4 separate regions of the Homo sapiens genome follow, and all the other regions are linked to region 1. The links are contacts of gene promoters, found by promoter capture Hi-C in blood cells and fetal thymus (Javierre and others, 2016). All regions are on one chromosome and are shown on one strand. Each heading gives the region's core, a stretch centred on a gene start or on the middle of the fragment in contact. The rest is flanking DNA. Distances are from core to core; before and after follow the strand shown.

Region 1 (3,669 bases), core at 840-3,339:
CTCCCAAAGTGCTGGAATTGCTTCTTATGGATGATTGAGGAAAGTGATTTATTGAGATGGAATCGATGGAATCTACTCCTGGTGAAGATGCTGAGAACAAGATTGAAATGGTAACAAAGGATTTAGAATGTTACATAAACTTAGTTGACAAAGTAGCAGCAGGGTTTGAAAGGACTGACTCCAATTCTGAAGGAATTTCTACTGTGGGTAAAATGCTGTAAAACAGCATCACATGCTACAGAGAAATCTTTTATAAAAGGAAGAGTCAATCGATGTGGTGAATGTCATTGTTGTCCTAATTTAAGAAATTGCCACAGACACCCCAACATGCAGCAAACACCTCCCTGATCAGTCAGCAGCCATTAACATCAAGGCAAGGCCCTCCACCGGCAAAAAGATGATTGTTCAGATGATCATTAGCATTTTTTAGGAATAAAGTATTTTAAAATTAAAGTATGTGCATTGTGTTTCTAGACATTATGCTCCTGCACACTTAACAGACTACAGAAAGCATAAGATATGTACAATAAATATATTAAGGGCTGGGCGCAGTGGCTCATGCCTGTAATCCCAGCACTTTGGGAGGCCAAGGCGGGCAGATCACGAGGTCAGGAGATCAAGACCATCCTGGCTAACACGGTGAAACCCTGTCTCTACTAAAAATACAAAAAAATTAGCCGGGTGTGGTGGCGGGCGCCTGTAGTCCCAGCTACTTGGGAGGCTGAGGCAGGAGAATGGTGTGAACCCAGGAGGTGGAGCTTGCAGTGAGCCGAGATCGCACCACTGCACTCCAGCCTGGGCGACAGACAGAGCAAGACTCCGTCTCAAAAAAAAAAATTTATATATATATATTAAGATATTAATAGTGTAACCATAATTTTTTTTTTTTGAAACAAGTCTCACTGCCGCCTAGGCAGGAGTGCAGTGGCTCAAACAGGGCTCACTGCCACTGCAAACTCCTGGGCTCAAGGGATCCTCCTGCCTAAGCCTCCTGAGTAGCTGAGACTACAGGTGTGTGCCACAACCTCTGCCTAATTTTTTTTATTTTTTGTAGAGACAGGGTCTCACTTTGTTGCCCAAGCTGATCCCCAATTTCTGGCCTCAAGCAATTGTTCCGCCTCAGCCTCCCAAAGTGCTGGGATTATTGGCATGAGCCACCACATCTAGCCAACATAACTTTTATACACATGGAAAACTAAAAAATTGTGTAATTTGCTTTATTATGTTGTTTGCTTTATTGGAGGGTCTGGAACTGAACTTGCAATATCTCCAAGGTATGCCTGTAATTGAATGTTTACACTGGTAAGAAATGTATTTGGATATATAATAATCTGTAAACTAAGAAGCTTGTACTACTGAATAATCTCCAACTATTAATACCTACCCACTCTGATTTTATTTTGTTTCTAAATGAGACAAATTACATTCAAAGCTATCCATTGTCCCCAATGACATAACACAGTGGAAGTGGCTAAGTAGAAGACTGCTAAAGCAAATGGTTTCCTGAAGATACAGGAGATTGGAAGGTGGGAATGCAATTTGTGGTAGTTCCAATGAGAAAATCAAAAGTCAGCCGGGTGTGGTGGCTCACGCCTGTAATCCCAGCACTTTGGGAGGCCGAGGGAGGCAGGTCACCTGAGGTCGGGAGTTTGAGACCAGCTTGGCCAACATGGCAAAACCCCGTCTCTACTAAAAATACAAAAATTAGCTGGGCATGGTGGCGGACGCCTGTAATCCCAGCTACTTGGGAGGCTGAGGCAGGAGAATTGCTTGAACCCTGGAGGCAGAGGTTGCAGTGAGCCAAGATCATGCCACTGCACTTCAGCCTGGACGACAAGAGCAAAACTCCGTCTCAAAAAAAAAAAAAAAAAAAAAAGAAAGAAAATCAAAAGTCAGAAAAACAATCAGAAATTCAGTAACTGCACATGCAGTTACTTAACCTTCCCCCTTCTGTCTGGCTTTTCCACTGCCTGAGACGTGGCGCTGAGGCTTCCCGTGTCTGAGGCTCCCAGTGCGCCTTGCGCTGCGCTTGGCGGGAAAGGTGACCTCGACCAGGGGTCAAAAAGCCACTGTCGCGCCCCAGCGGGTGACCGTTGAAGGAAAGCGCATGCGCGTCGGGCACAGCGCGTGCAGCCTCGTGCAGCTCTTCTGGTCTCCGGCGCCCGCCCCTCAGACGTAATGTAATATATATTAGTGTGTATATATCTGTGTGTGTGTGCGTATATTTTACTTTTTAATCTCTTTGTCTGTCAGCTTCCCCCTACTTTTAAGTTTCTTAAGGTCTTAGTGGTAAAACATTTGCGGTAAAAATGTATACCCACTTACTTGTCAACAGAGGTTCTTGAGATGGGGTGAGTACGGACGGCGAATTCAGGATTTGTCAGGATAAATTTAAACGTTTAACGTAAATAGGTTCTTCTATGAAGTTTGCCTCTTTAGTAAACTCTTCCAGCTGAATTGTCTGATTAAGAAAAGTGAAACTGGGGCCGGACACAGTGGTTCCGGACACACAACTTCCTGTAATCCCAGCAAGTTGGGCGGCTGAGGCCGGAGGATCATTTGAGACCAGCCTGACCAACATGGCGAAACCCCGTCTCCACTAAAAATAGAAAAAAAAATTAGCGGCCGGGCACGGTGCTTCACGCCTATAATCCCAACACCTTGGGGGCCGAGGCGGGCGGATCACGAGGTCAGGAGTTTCCTGGCCAACATGGTGAAACCCCGTGTCTACTAGAAATACAAAAATTAGCTGGGCGTGGTGGCACGCCTGGAGTCCCAGCTACTCAGGAGGCTCAGGCAGGAGAATCACTTGAACCCAGAGGGGGAGGTTGCGGTGAGCCGAGATCGCGCCATTACACTCCAGCCTGGGCAACAGAGAGAGACACCGTCTCGAAAAAAAAAATTGTATATATATATATGGTGGGCACCTGTGGTCCCAGCTACTCGGGAGGCTGAGGCAGGAGAATCGCTTGAACCCGGGAGGCGGAGCTTGCAGTGAGCTGAGATCGCGCCACTGCACTCCAGCCTGGCGACAGAGCGAAACTCCGTCTCAAAAAAATGAAAAATAAAAACAAATAAAACTGAAAAAGTTTAGAGGGTTTGCCAGGCAATTTTTCATTACTGAATACCTACCTGTACAATGTTGTCATTGTTTGAATTTGTATAGGGAATAAAAATAGGAAGATTGTGCCTTTTTAAAAAGTTCTCTTAAACAGTTTCTTAATAACCCATTTGTTTGAGACTTGCTAGTCAAATGGCTTCAAATCAGGACCCTACTCAAAATGGTTCTACTGCAATATCGACCTCTACGTTTTTGAAGACTCTATTTTAATTAAAGAAATTCAAATTTATTCACATAAAATTGTTTTGAATTTTATATGTGGTAAACTGAAATGTTAGAGGAAAAAAATGAGCTCTAAGTTAAAGCTTGTATTTGTGTCACAAGGTTGAATTAAAGAAAATACTTTATCAGAAGAAGATGGCCACTGCCCAGTTGCAGAGGACTCCCATGGTATGATTTCTTGTATTTTGGTATATCTTAATAATAGCTGCTTTTATTGTTTCTTGAAGTCTCAAATACTCTGTTGGAAGTTAGGGCTCAACTATTTGAGGGTTTTATGATACCAGGAAACTGCATGTTTTAAGAAATGAAGATATTTGCTGAAGTAT
Region 2 (3,669 bases), core at 870-3,369, 340 kb after region 1:
ACGCCACCATGACGGTCTAATTTTTGTTTTTTTTTAGTAGACACAGGGTTTCGCCATGTTGGCCAGGCTGGTCTTGAACTCCTCACCTTGTGATCTGTCTGCTCGGGCCTCCCAAAGTACTGGGATTACAGGCATGAGCCAATTCAGCTGGGCCTTTTTTTTTTTTTTTTTTTTAATGAAGTCTCACTCTGTTGCCCAGGCTGATGTGCAGTGGCACCATCTCGGCTCACTGCAACTTCCACCTCCGGGTCCAAGGGATTATCCTGCCTCAGCCTCCCAAGTGGTTGGGATTACAGGCGCGCACCACCATGCCTGGCTAAGTTTTGTATTTTTAGTAAAGATGGGGTTTCTTCATTTTGGCCAGGCTGGTCTCGAACTCCTGACCTCATGTGATCCACCCGCCTTGGCCTCTCAAGTTGCTGGGATTACAGGCACTCAGTGAGCCACCCTGTCTAGCCAATAAATTATTTCTTAATTAAAAATAACTATATTTTGTAAAACAAAAATTTAGTGGGAGCAAATTGTTTTTCATTTTTGCAAATCTGTTTAATGGTCTGGCTTAAAAGGAGAGAAGTGTGTTCTTCTACTTGCTTCTATATGAGAATGGGCAGGTGCAAGGCTGTTTGGGAACTTTTATCCTGTATATACCACACTGTCCATGGAACACTATAAAATACCAATATACTCTGAAAGAAGCAGGAAGCCGTCTACCATAATGGTAAAGTGTAGGCCTTGGAGTCAAGACTGCTTAAGTTTGCAACCTGGCTCTATTGTTCATTAGTTGTGTACCTTGAACAAGTTATTTTAACCTCACTGAGCCCTCAAGTACTTAATTTATTGTCATTTATAGGGTTTATTATTTTACCTGTCACCAGTGTAATTTACATATACATCACTAATAGATTTACTCAGTAATAATACATTAACTAATGAATTGTTATATTAAATGAAATCACATAAGAACTCAGTAAATGTTATTTTCTTACTAAACTATTAGTGTTATGTTTGTAAAATTAACTACATTAATGACTGGAAATATAAGATTATTAAGTAATAACAACATACTTGTAAGCAACTTGGGCTTTGAATCCACCGTATTTCTTTTCTTTCTCCCACTTACCTTCACGTGACTTCTGCTTATATAAAACAAAATTAAGCTTATGCTTAGCCACTCTGAAACCAGGCACGTTTCCTTTTCCTACACTATAAATGTTCTGACAATTTCCCCAAAATAATCAATTTACTTCTCTGAGACTCAATTTATAAATTTTTAATAAATTTATAAATTCAACTGTTACACATCTATATTTTATAAATTCATATTTTTTATAAATTTACAAATTCATATTTTGCAGAGCTGACATCAAGATTATAGGTAATACATGTATGATAGCTAGTAAGGATCCTCAGTAAACAATAAGGATCCAGCAATCCAACCAAAGTGATACCTATTCTAAACTGTTAGAGCATATAAAACTCATATTATTATACTTCCCAGAACCAGTTATATGTGTTCAATTCCTATCTTACTTACTAAATGTTTTTTTTTTTTTTTTGAGACGCAGTCTTGCTCTGTCGCCCAGGCTAGAGTGCAGTGGTACGATCTCGGCTCACTGCCAGCTCTGTCTCCCAGGTTCACACCATCCTCCTGCCTCAGCCTCCCGAGTAGCTGGGACTACAGGCGCCCGCCACCACGCCTGGCTAATTTTTTGTATTTTTAGTAGAGACGGGGTTTCACCGTCAGCCAGGATGGTCTCAATCTCCTGACCTCGTGATCCGCCCGCCTCGGCCTCCCAAAGTACTGGGATTACAGGCGTGAGCCACCGCGCCCGGCCCATTTACTAAATGTTAAGTTCCTTATAATTCCATCTCTTTCAGCACCCAATACAGGGGTTTACATAGAGGAAGTACTCAATATTTCCTTTCTTTTTTTCTTTTTTTTTCTGGAGATAGTCTCGCTCTGTCACCAGGCTGGAGTGTAGTGGCGTAATCTCAGCTCACTGCAACTGCTGCCTCCTGGGTTCAAGCAATTCTCCTGCCTCAGCCTCCCGAGTAGCTGAGACTACAGGCACATGCCACCACGCTCAGCTAATTTTTGTATTTTTAGTAGAGACAAGGTTTCACCATGTTGGCCAGGCTGGTCTCAAACTCCTGACCTCAGGTGATCTCCCCACCTTGGCCTCCCAAAGTGCTGGGATTACAGGCGTGAGCCACAGCGCCCGGCCAGCACTCAGTATTTCTAAGTTCATTTTCTCATTCTGTATCTTTAGGCATAACATATTATAAGAGAATTTTAATCTTTCAAGTAATACTGCCTCCTAGACACAAAGATCATCATTTTAAAAGACTGTATCGGCCGGGCGCGGTGGCTCACGCCTGTAATCCCAGCACTTTGGGAGGCCAAGGCGGGCGGATCACGAGGTCAGGAGATCGAGACCATCCTGGCTAACACGGTGAAACCCCTTCTCTACTAAAAATACAAAAAATCAGCCGGGCGTGGTGGCGGGCGCCTGTAGTCCCAGCTACTCAGGAGGCTGAGGCGAGAGAATGGCGTGAACCCGGGAGGCGGAGCTTGCAGTGAGCCGAGATGGCGCCACTGCACTCCAGCCTGGGCAACAAACAGAGCAAGATTCCGTCTCAAAAAAAAAAAAAGACTGTATCATGCTACACTCTAAAACTATGATGACAGTAAAGGAACACAAAAACAGCTCAGGATCCATTCTAGGTTTTTTAAAACAAAAAATGTTAAGTTATAATCCCAAACATTAAAAGATCCTTTTTTCCTTTCACAGTGCAACTTTTACTAAAGGGTAATAAAGAATCACTCTCTCTCTCTGCTAATGGATTCCAGAGAACTAGAAAGTGCAAGTAAGTGAAATTAATTATAAGAGAAAGAAGTGAAGAAAGAGAGATGAGGGAGAGATCAAGGCCTCAATCAAACACTAGTAAAATTTAAACCCAGCAAACCAAACATTTTCATTTCCTTCATCAAAGAGCCTCTATTTCAATATTTCTCTAAAAACAAGAGAATAAGAATGAAGCATTTTTAAAAACTATCTTTATCTTAGCCAGAAAAGCTTTAATATTTCAAAGCACAGATGGAATTGTTGCCTTTTCTCAAAAGGAATAACTAGGTTCTACTACTTTCTCCCTAAGATGTACATTCCTCCAGTGTTCTATAATTAATATCTGTGGGGGCAGTGGAATTTGAAATCACTACGAAACACAACTACTTTTTGTTTCCTTGACAAATAGATGAGAAAGTCAGTCAAGCTGGTTTGTAAATTGTTCTGTTCTTGGGTAATTTTTATTAGGGTCTCTGAGTTCCTTCAACAAATTAAACCTCATGTATCCTTAATTCTCAATTGAAATTTTAAAACAACTGACCAAAATCTCCCCTTTTGACTTTTAAAAGTACTGCTGTAAAACAATAAACACCTGGAAAAAGTGGGAGGAAAAAAGAGAACATAACTGACAAAAGCCTAGGAGGAAGAAAGAATTTTGATGCAACTATTATTTATTAGTTTAAGAAAGGCAGGAAGCCAAATCATTAAGAGTAAAATCATTCAACCCAAGGAAGCTGATAACAACAAAAAAGAATAAAATCAGTAAGCTTCTACTCCCTAAAAAATTACGCACATACATACACTCGTCCCTCCTCTACAGACA
Region 3 (3,669 bases), core at 677-3,176, 280 kb after region 1:
AAAATGAAAAAATTAGCCACATGTGGTGGCACACATTTGTAGTACCCGCTACATGGGAGTCTGAGGCAAGAGGATCTGTACTGTACTGACTGGTGATCACAACACTGCAACCCAGCCTGGGCCACAGAGCAAGACCTTGTCTCAAAAAAAAAAAGTGTTAAAGTAGAAGTGAATGAGAAATAATTACCAATAAAGTTAATAATTTAAGTAAAGATTTTAATTATGTCTTACGTGAAATGCAGAAGAAATAAAAAACAATGCAGGAAGGGCGTAACCATTGTCAGGGAGAGGAATCAAACTGGTGTGATCTCAGGAAGCAAAACAAGGACAAAAGTATGAAGCCGTAGAGAAAAGAAATTTTATTCTAGCAGATCTGCCAAAGAACAGAAACCATTCTAATAATTTCATAGATCTATCAAAAGACAAAACAGGAATGTAACCTCTCCTTAAGTGAATCCACCAAACCATATGGAGATTGAAGACAAAAAAAAAAAAAAGCTATGTCAAACTTAAGGCCTCTTTCAAGGATGAGAGCCTATGAATCCATAACATCATGTGTTCACAAAGAATTTTTTTCTTGCCTAAGAATGGCTTATGTAAGAAACAGAGAAAATTGTATTAAACCTTACAATTTTCTTTTTTTTTGAGACAGGGTCTCACTCAGTTGTCGAGGCTGAACTATGGTGGCATGATCTTGGCTCACTGCAGCCGCAGCCTCAGCCTCCTGGGCTCAAGCGATCCACCTGCGTGTGACATGCTTTATTGCAATATTTGCTTTATTGTGGTGGTTTGGAACTGAAATCTCAATATCTCTAAGGTATGCCTGACTATGTGTGTGACTGGTTTCAAATACAATACTAACATTTATAGAAGAAAAAGACTGTAAGATAGTAATGCTGAAATTGTTATCTTGTAAATCTCCATTTGGTGAAAGTGAGTGGATTTTTCTTTATACTTTTCACAATTTTCTGTGTTCTATAATGTTTAGATACGGCCGGGTGTGGTGGCTCATGCCTGTAATCGCAGCACTTTGGGAGGCCGAGGGAGGCGGATCACAAGGTCAAGAGATCGAGACCATCCTGGCCAACATGGTGAAACCCCGTCTCTACTAAAAATACAAAAATTAGCTGGGTGCGGTGGCACATGCCTGTAATCCCAGCTACTCGGGACGCTGAGGCAGGAGAATTGCTTGAACCAAGGAGTCGAAGGTTGCAGTGAGCTGAGATTGCGCCATTGCACTCCAGCCTGGAGACAGAGTGAGACTCCGTTTAAAAAAAAAAAAGTTTAGATATGTACTTACCATTGTTACAGCTGCCTATAGTATTCAATACAGTGACATGCAGTGCAGGTTTACAGCCAAAGAGCAATAGGCTACACAACATAGCTTCGGTTTTTAGTAGGCTATGCCATCTACGTTTATTTAAGTACACTCTAGGATGTTCAAAGGATAAAATTCCCTAATGACACATTTTTCAGAACATACTCTTTTTTTTTTGAAGACAGAGTCTTGCTCTGTCACCCAGGCTGGAGTGCAATGGTGCGATCTCGGCTCACTGCAACTTCCGCCTCCTGGGTTCAAACGATTTTCCTGCCTCCGCCTCCGGGGTAGCTGGGATTATAGGCGCCTGCCACCACGCCCAGCTAATTTTGTATTTTTTTTTAGTAGGGACGGGGTTTCACCATGTTGGTTAGGCTGGTCTTGAACTCCCGACCTCAAGTGATCTGCCCGCCTTGGCCTCCCAAAGTGCTGGGATTACAGGTGTGAGCCACCGCACCTGGCCTCAGAACATATTCTTGATGTTAAGCAACGCATGACTTTTTTTCTTTTCTTTTCTTGAGATGAGTCTTGCTCTGTCGCCCAGGCCGGAGTGCAGTGGCACCACCTCCGCTCACTGCAACCTCCGCCTCCCAAGTTCAAGCGATTCTTCTGCCTCAGCTTCCCAAGTGGCTGGGACTACAGGCCAGTGACACCATGCCCGGCTAATTTTTGTATATATATTTTTTTAGTTGAGATGGGGTTTCACCGTATTGGCCAGGCTGGTCTCAAACTCCTGACCTCATGATCTGCCTGCCTCGGCCTCCCAAAGTGCTGGGGTTACAGGCGTGAGCCACGGTTCCTGGCTCAACTTTTTTTTTTTTTTTTTTTTAAATAATGACAGAAAGAATCTCAGCATAAAAAATATAAGAAGTGACAACAGAGTCTGTTCTTTCTGGTTAATAAACCTCTAGAAAATTGTAAAGTTTAGGCTGGGCACGGTGGCTCACGCCTGCAGTTCTAGCACTTTGGAAGGCTGAAGCTGGCGGATCACCTGAGCCCAGGAGTTTGAGACCAGCCTGGGCAACGTGGCGAAACCCCATCTCTGCAAAAAATACAAAAACTTGCCAGATGTGGTGGGGCACACCTGTAGTCCCAGCCACTTGGAGGGCTGAGGTGGGGGAATCGGTTGAGACCAGGGGTTCGAGTCTGCAGTGAGCCCTGACAACACCACTGCACTCCAGCTTGAGTGACAGAGTAAGACTCTGTCTCTAAAAACAAACCAATAAATTTTTAAAAAGTTACATTTACACTATACTATAGTCAATTAAGTGTGCAATAGCATTATGTATTAAAAACAATATCCATATGTTAGTTAAAAAAATACTTTATAGCTAAAAAACTCTTAACAATCATCTGAGTCTCCAGCAAATCATATTCTTTTTGCTGGTGGAGGGTCTTGCCTTGATGATGACTGATCATGGTAGCTGGGACTGCAGGCATGCACCACCACACCCAGCTAATATTTGTATTTTTAGTAGAGACAAGGTTTCACCATGTTGGCCAGGATGGTCTCGATCTCTTGACCTCGTGATCTGCCTGCCTTGGCCTCCAAAGTGTTGGGATTACAGGTGTTAAAAGCCACCATGCCTGGCCTTAATGTTGATATTTTGACCTCTCCCTATGAATCACAAATGTTCTTCATGCCATCTAGAATGGTGAATCCTTTCCAGAAGGTTTTCAATTTCCTTTGCCCAGATCCATAAAAGGAATCATTATTAGCGGCAACTATAGCCTTACAAAATGTCTTTCTTTCTTTTTTTAATAATAGAGACTACGTCTCGCAATGTTGCCCAGGCTGATCTCAAACTCCTGAGCTCTAGAGATCTTCCCATCTCGGACTTCCAAAGTGCTGGGATAACAGGCGTGTGCCACCGTGCCCAGCCTGTATTTTTTCTTTTTATTTGAGACGGAGTTTTGCTCGTTGCCCAGGCTGGAGTGCAATGGCGCGATCTCAGCTCACTGCGACCTCTGCCTCCTGGGTTCAAGCAATTGTCCTGCCTCGGCTTCCTGAGTGGCTGGTATTACAGGCGTGTGCCACCATGCCTGGCTAATTTTTATTTTTAGTAGAGACGGGGTTTCACCATGTTGGCCAGGCTGGTCTTGAACTCCTGACCTCAAGTGATCCATCCACTAGCCTTGGCCTCCCAAAGTGCTGGGATTACAGGTGTGAGCCACCATGCCCAGCCCTGTATTTCTTTTTTTTTAATTGAGACGGAGTCTTGCTCTGTTGCCCAGGCTGGAGTGCAGTGGCGATCTTGGCTCACTGCAAGCTCCACCTCCAGGGTTCACCCCATTCTCCTGCCTCAGCCTCCGGAGTAGCTGGGACTACAGACGCCTGCCACCACGCCCAG
Region 4 (3,669 bases), core at 489-2,988, 260 kb after region 1:
TGCAAAGGGTTATTCATAAAATTTTTATAATTTACAGGTTTTTTTTTTGTTTTTTGTTTTTTTTTGAGACAAGAGTCTCGCTCTGTCAACCAGGCTGGAGTGCAGTGGCTTGATCCTGGATCACTGCAACCTCTGCCTTCTGGGTTCAAATGATACTTATGCCTCAGCCTTATGAGTAGCTGGGATTACAGGTACGTGCCACCACAGCTGGCGAATTTTTTCTTTTTTTGAGACGGAGTCTTGCTCTGTTGCCCAGGCTGAAGTGCAGTGGCGTGATCTTGGCTCACTGCAACCCCCGCCTCCCAGGTTCAAGTGATTGTCCTGCCTCAGCCTCCCAAGTAGCTGGGACTACAGATGCATGCCACCATGCCCAGCTAATTTTTGTATTTTTAGTAGACAGGGTTTCACCAAGTTGGCCAGGCTGGTCTTGAACTCCTGACTTCAGGTGATCCGCCTGCCTTGGCCTCCCAAAGTGCTGGAAATACAGGCGTGAGCCACCAAACCTGGCCTAATTTTTGTTTTTTGTTTTTTTTTGAGACGGAGTATTGCTCTGTCGCCCAGGCTGTGCAGTGGCGCGATCCTGGCTCACTGCAAGCTCCGCCTCCTGGGTTCAGGCCATTCTCCTGCCTTAGCCTCCCGAGCAGCTGGGACTACAGGCGCCCGCCACCATGCCTGGCTATTTTTTTGTATTTTTAGTAGAGACGGGGTTTTACCATGTTGGCCAGGATGGTCTCGATCTCTTGACCTCGTGATCCACCCGCCTCGGCCTCCCAAAGTGCTGGGATTACAGGTGTGAGCCACCACGCTCGGCCATAATTTTTGTTTTTTTAAGTAGAGATGGGGTTTCGCCATGTTGTCCAGGTTTGTCTCCAACTCCTGGCCTCAAGTGATCAACCTGCCTCCACCTCCCAAAGTGGTGGCGTGAGCCACCACACCTGGCCCTATAGTATTCTTCATAACAGTAAAAAACTGGAAACATACTAAGTGCCTAATAATAAAGGATTAGATAAGTTACCACATGCTATGCAGCTATTAAAAATGATGTAGAGAAATATTTAATGATTCATAAAAACATTCAAGATATGTAATTAACTTTTAAATAGCTAGTTTTGAAACAGTATATGCAATACACTTACTTTTTTAAAAATTGTTATACATATTTAATTCTCCAAAACATTCATATACACATATACTTTTAAGGGTAAACACAAGTGGTTTCCTTTGGGGTAACAGGATTATAGATATTTATTAAAAAATTTTTTTCATTTAAAATTTTTTATTTAGAGATAGGGTCTCACTATATTGCCAAGGCTGGTCTCGAACTCCTGGCCTCAGGCAATCTACCATCTCAGCCTCCCAAAGTGCTGGGATTACAGGCATGAGCCACCACGCCTGGCCTAGATATTTATTTCATTCTCTTTGCTTATTTTCTAATTTTTCTATAATGACCGATTATTGGATTATTTTTTAATTTAACAATTAATTTAGCTGGGTGCGCTGGCTCACGCCTGTAATCCCAGCACTTTGGGAGGCCAAGATGGGTGGATCACCTGAGGTCAGGAGTTTGAGACCAGCCTGACCAACATGGTGAAACCCCGTCTCTACCAAAAATACAAAATTAGCTGGGCATGGTGGCACATGCCTGTAGTCCCAGCTATTTGGGAGGCTAAGGCAGAATTGCTTGAACCTGGGAGATGGAGGCTGCAGTGAGTGAAGTTTGCACCATTGCACTCCAGCCTAGGTAACATGACTGAAACTCCGTCTCAGAAAAAAAAAAAAAAATCATTAATTAAAAAAAATCAACAACAGACTGGGCACGGTGACTCACGCCTATAATCCCAGCACTTTGGGAGGCCGAGGTGGGTGTATCACCTGAGGTCAGAAGTTCAAGACCAGCCTGGCCAACATGGTGAAACCCCATCTCTACTAAAAATACAAAAATTAGCCGGGCGTGGTAGCAGGTGCCTGTAATCCCAGCTACTTGGGAGGCTGAAGCAGCAGAACACTTGAACCCGGGAGGCAGAGGTTGCAGTGAGCCAAGATTGCACCACTGCACTCCTGCCTGGGAGACAGAGCGAAACTCTGTCTAAACAACAACAACAACAACAACAACAACCCCCCCAAAAACAGATTAATGATTCAATTTAAAAAGATGGAAATTAACTTTTTATCCTCCTTACTGGGCTTACTTACCAGTATTTTTCATGACTGATGTTAAACTGCTAAGGATGGAACTGATCTTTGCCAGATCCACATTAGCCAGGTTTGGCAAAGCCAATGCTGGGGAAGGGGAAAGAGAAGTATTCACAGGCTTTGGAAGAGGTGGAGTTGCTGTCATGGTCACAGGCACTGGGGTACATGAAGAGGCCTTTGAGATATTTTCTGTTGGCTTTGTAGGTACAGAAGTGGATACAGCTGACTTCTCTGCAGGTTTTTCCTTCCTGTCCTCGACTGTTTCAACAAAGAAAAGAGATATTACATCCTACTACTTTCCAGACTTTGCTTCCTATATGAAATAACATGTCCTAATATTTCCGGACTTGGGGGAAAAGGCACTACTTTAGAGAAAACAACGACTCACTTCATGCTTTTTTGAAAAAGTCATACTCTTCATAATTTATGATAATTCCCACCTTTAATATCTGCTTAAAAGCAATTTCCAGCTGGGGACAATGGCTCATGTGAGGTCAGGATTTCGAGACCAGCCTGGTCAACATGGTGAAATCCTGCCTCCACAAAAAATACAAAAAATTAGCTAGGTGTGGTGGCAGGCGTCTATAATCCCAGCTACTACAGAGGCTGAGACACGAGAATCGCTTGAACCCAGGAGGCAGAGGTTGCAATGAGCCGAGATTGTGCCACTGCATTCCAGCCTGGGCAACAAAGCGAGACTCCCGTCTCAAAAAAAAAAAAAAAAGCAAGCAATTTCCAGAATTTATCTTGTATCTTACTTTTCAATGATTCCTTTGCATTTTCTTAGTATTTGTGTATTAAATCTGTACAATTCAAGAAGCATGTTATTATTTGGTACACATTTGTGTTCTGTCTTTTGGAAATGATATTTTTCATAAATTGTCCTGTGTTTTTCTTTTCCATTAACCTGAGAACTTTCTAAGAACTTCTGTTCTTAGAAACAGAACCTCTATAGTGTTCATTGTATTTTCCTCTGGCTTCCTGAAATTGCCCTATTGGGGGGTGCAATCAGGCACTAGCTAATTTGAAACTACAATGTTTTAACTCTCAATCACCTTGAATAATTATTTTTAATGCTTTAAGGGCTGTATCAATAGTGCATTGAATTCAACAGGAGTCAAACTATCTAATAAGATTTATGAAGGCTGGGGATATAAGAGAAACAATTCACCAAATCAGGTTATTTCTGAAAGTGTGATTAACAAACTGACTTTGGAATTCTTGATGGTCAAAAGTGACAGAGAATAAGGAATTCCAGTATAAGTGACCCCTCATCCCAAAACAGTGCTATTTAACATGAATACAATTTAAGCCACATATGCCACATATGTAAGTTTAAATTTTCTAGCAGCCAAATTAACAAAAAAAGAATCAGGGCCGGGCATGGTGGCTCAAGCCCACCTCCCAGCACTTTGAGAGGCCGAGGCAGGCGGATCACTTGAGGTCAGGAGTTCGAGACCAGCCTGCCCAACATGG

What was found. The method cuts DNA at HindIII sites, captures the fragments that hold promoters and counts their contacts. A CHiCAGO score of 5 or more calls a contact.
Region 2: a contact is called between a fragment that was not itself captured here and the fragment with the promoter of HORMAD1 in region 1, in 1 of 17 cell types (monocytes). The highest score is 5.1, in monocytes.
Region 3: a fragment that was not itself captured here is called in contact with the fragment with the promoter of HORMAD1 in region 1 in 4 of 17 cell types (monocytes, neutrophils, erythroblasts and 1 more); the score reaches 6.8 in monocytes.
Region 4: a contact is called between a fragment that was not itself captured here and the fragment with the promoter of HORMAD1 in region 1, in 1 of 17 cell types (neutrophils). The highest score is 7.0, in neutrophils.

Annotation. Positions count from the first base shown.
Region 1 is chr1:150,719,315-150,722,983 of GRCh38, reverse strand. It overlaps HORMAD1 (HORMA domain containing 1), which reads left to right and starts at 2,089. Exons shown (of 15, transcript NM_032132.5): 1 at 2,089-2,180; 2 at 3,446-3,511. The coding sequence starts at 3,479. The HindIII fragment of the contact is 2,080 bases long and covers 1,349-3,428 here.
Region 2 is chr1:150,375,485-150,379,153 of GRCh38, reverse strand. All of the region lies in intron 1 of RPRD2 (regulation of nuclear pre-mRNA domain containing 2), which reads right to left. Among named protein-coding and RNA genes, the nearest start is that of RPRD2, 13 kb to the right of the region's middle. The HindIII fragment of the contact is 1,920 bases long and covers 1,160-3,079 here.
Region 3 is chr1:150,436,456-150,440,124 of GRCh38, reverse strand. The region is part of intron 2 of RPRD2 (regulation of nuclear pre-mRNA domain containing 2); the gene reads right to left. Among named protein-coding and RNA genes, the nearest start is that of TARS2, 49 kb to the left of the region's middle. The HindIII fragment of the contact is 5,634 bases long and covers 1-3,669 here.
Region 4 is chr1:150,458,842-150,462,510 of GRCh38, reverse strand. It overlaps RPRD2 (regulation of nuclear pre-mRNA domain containing 2), which reads right to left. Exons shown (of 11, transcript NM_015203.5): 9 at 2,194-2,451. Among named protein-coding and RNA genes, the nearest start is that of TARS2, 27 kb to the left of the region's middle. The HindIII fragment of the contact is 5,293 bases long and covers 1-3,669 here.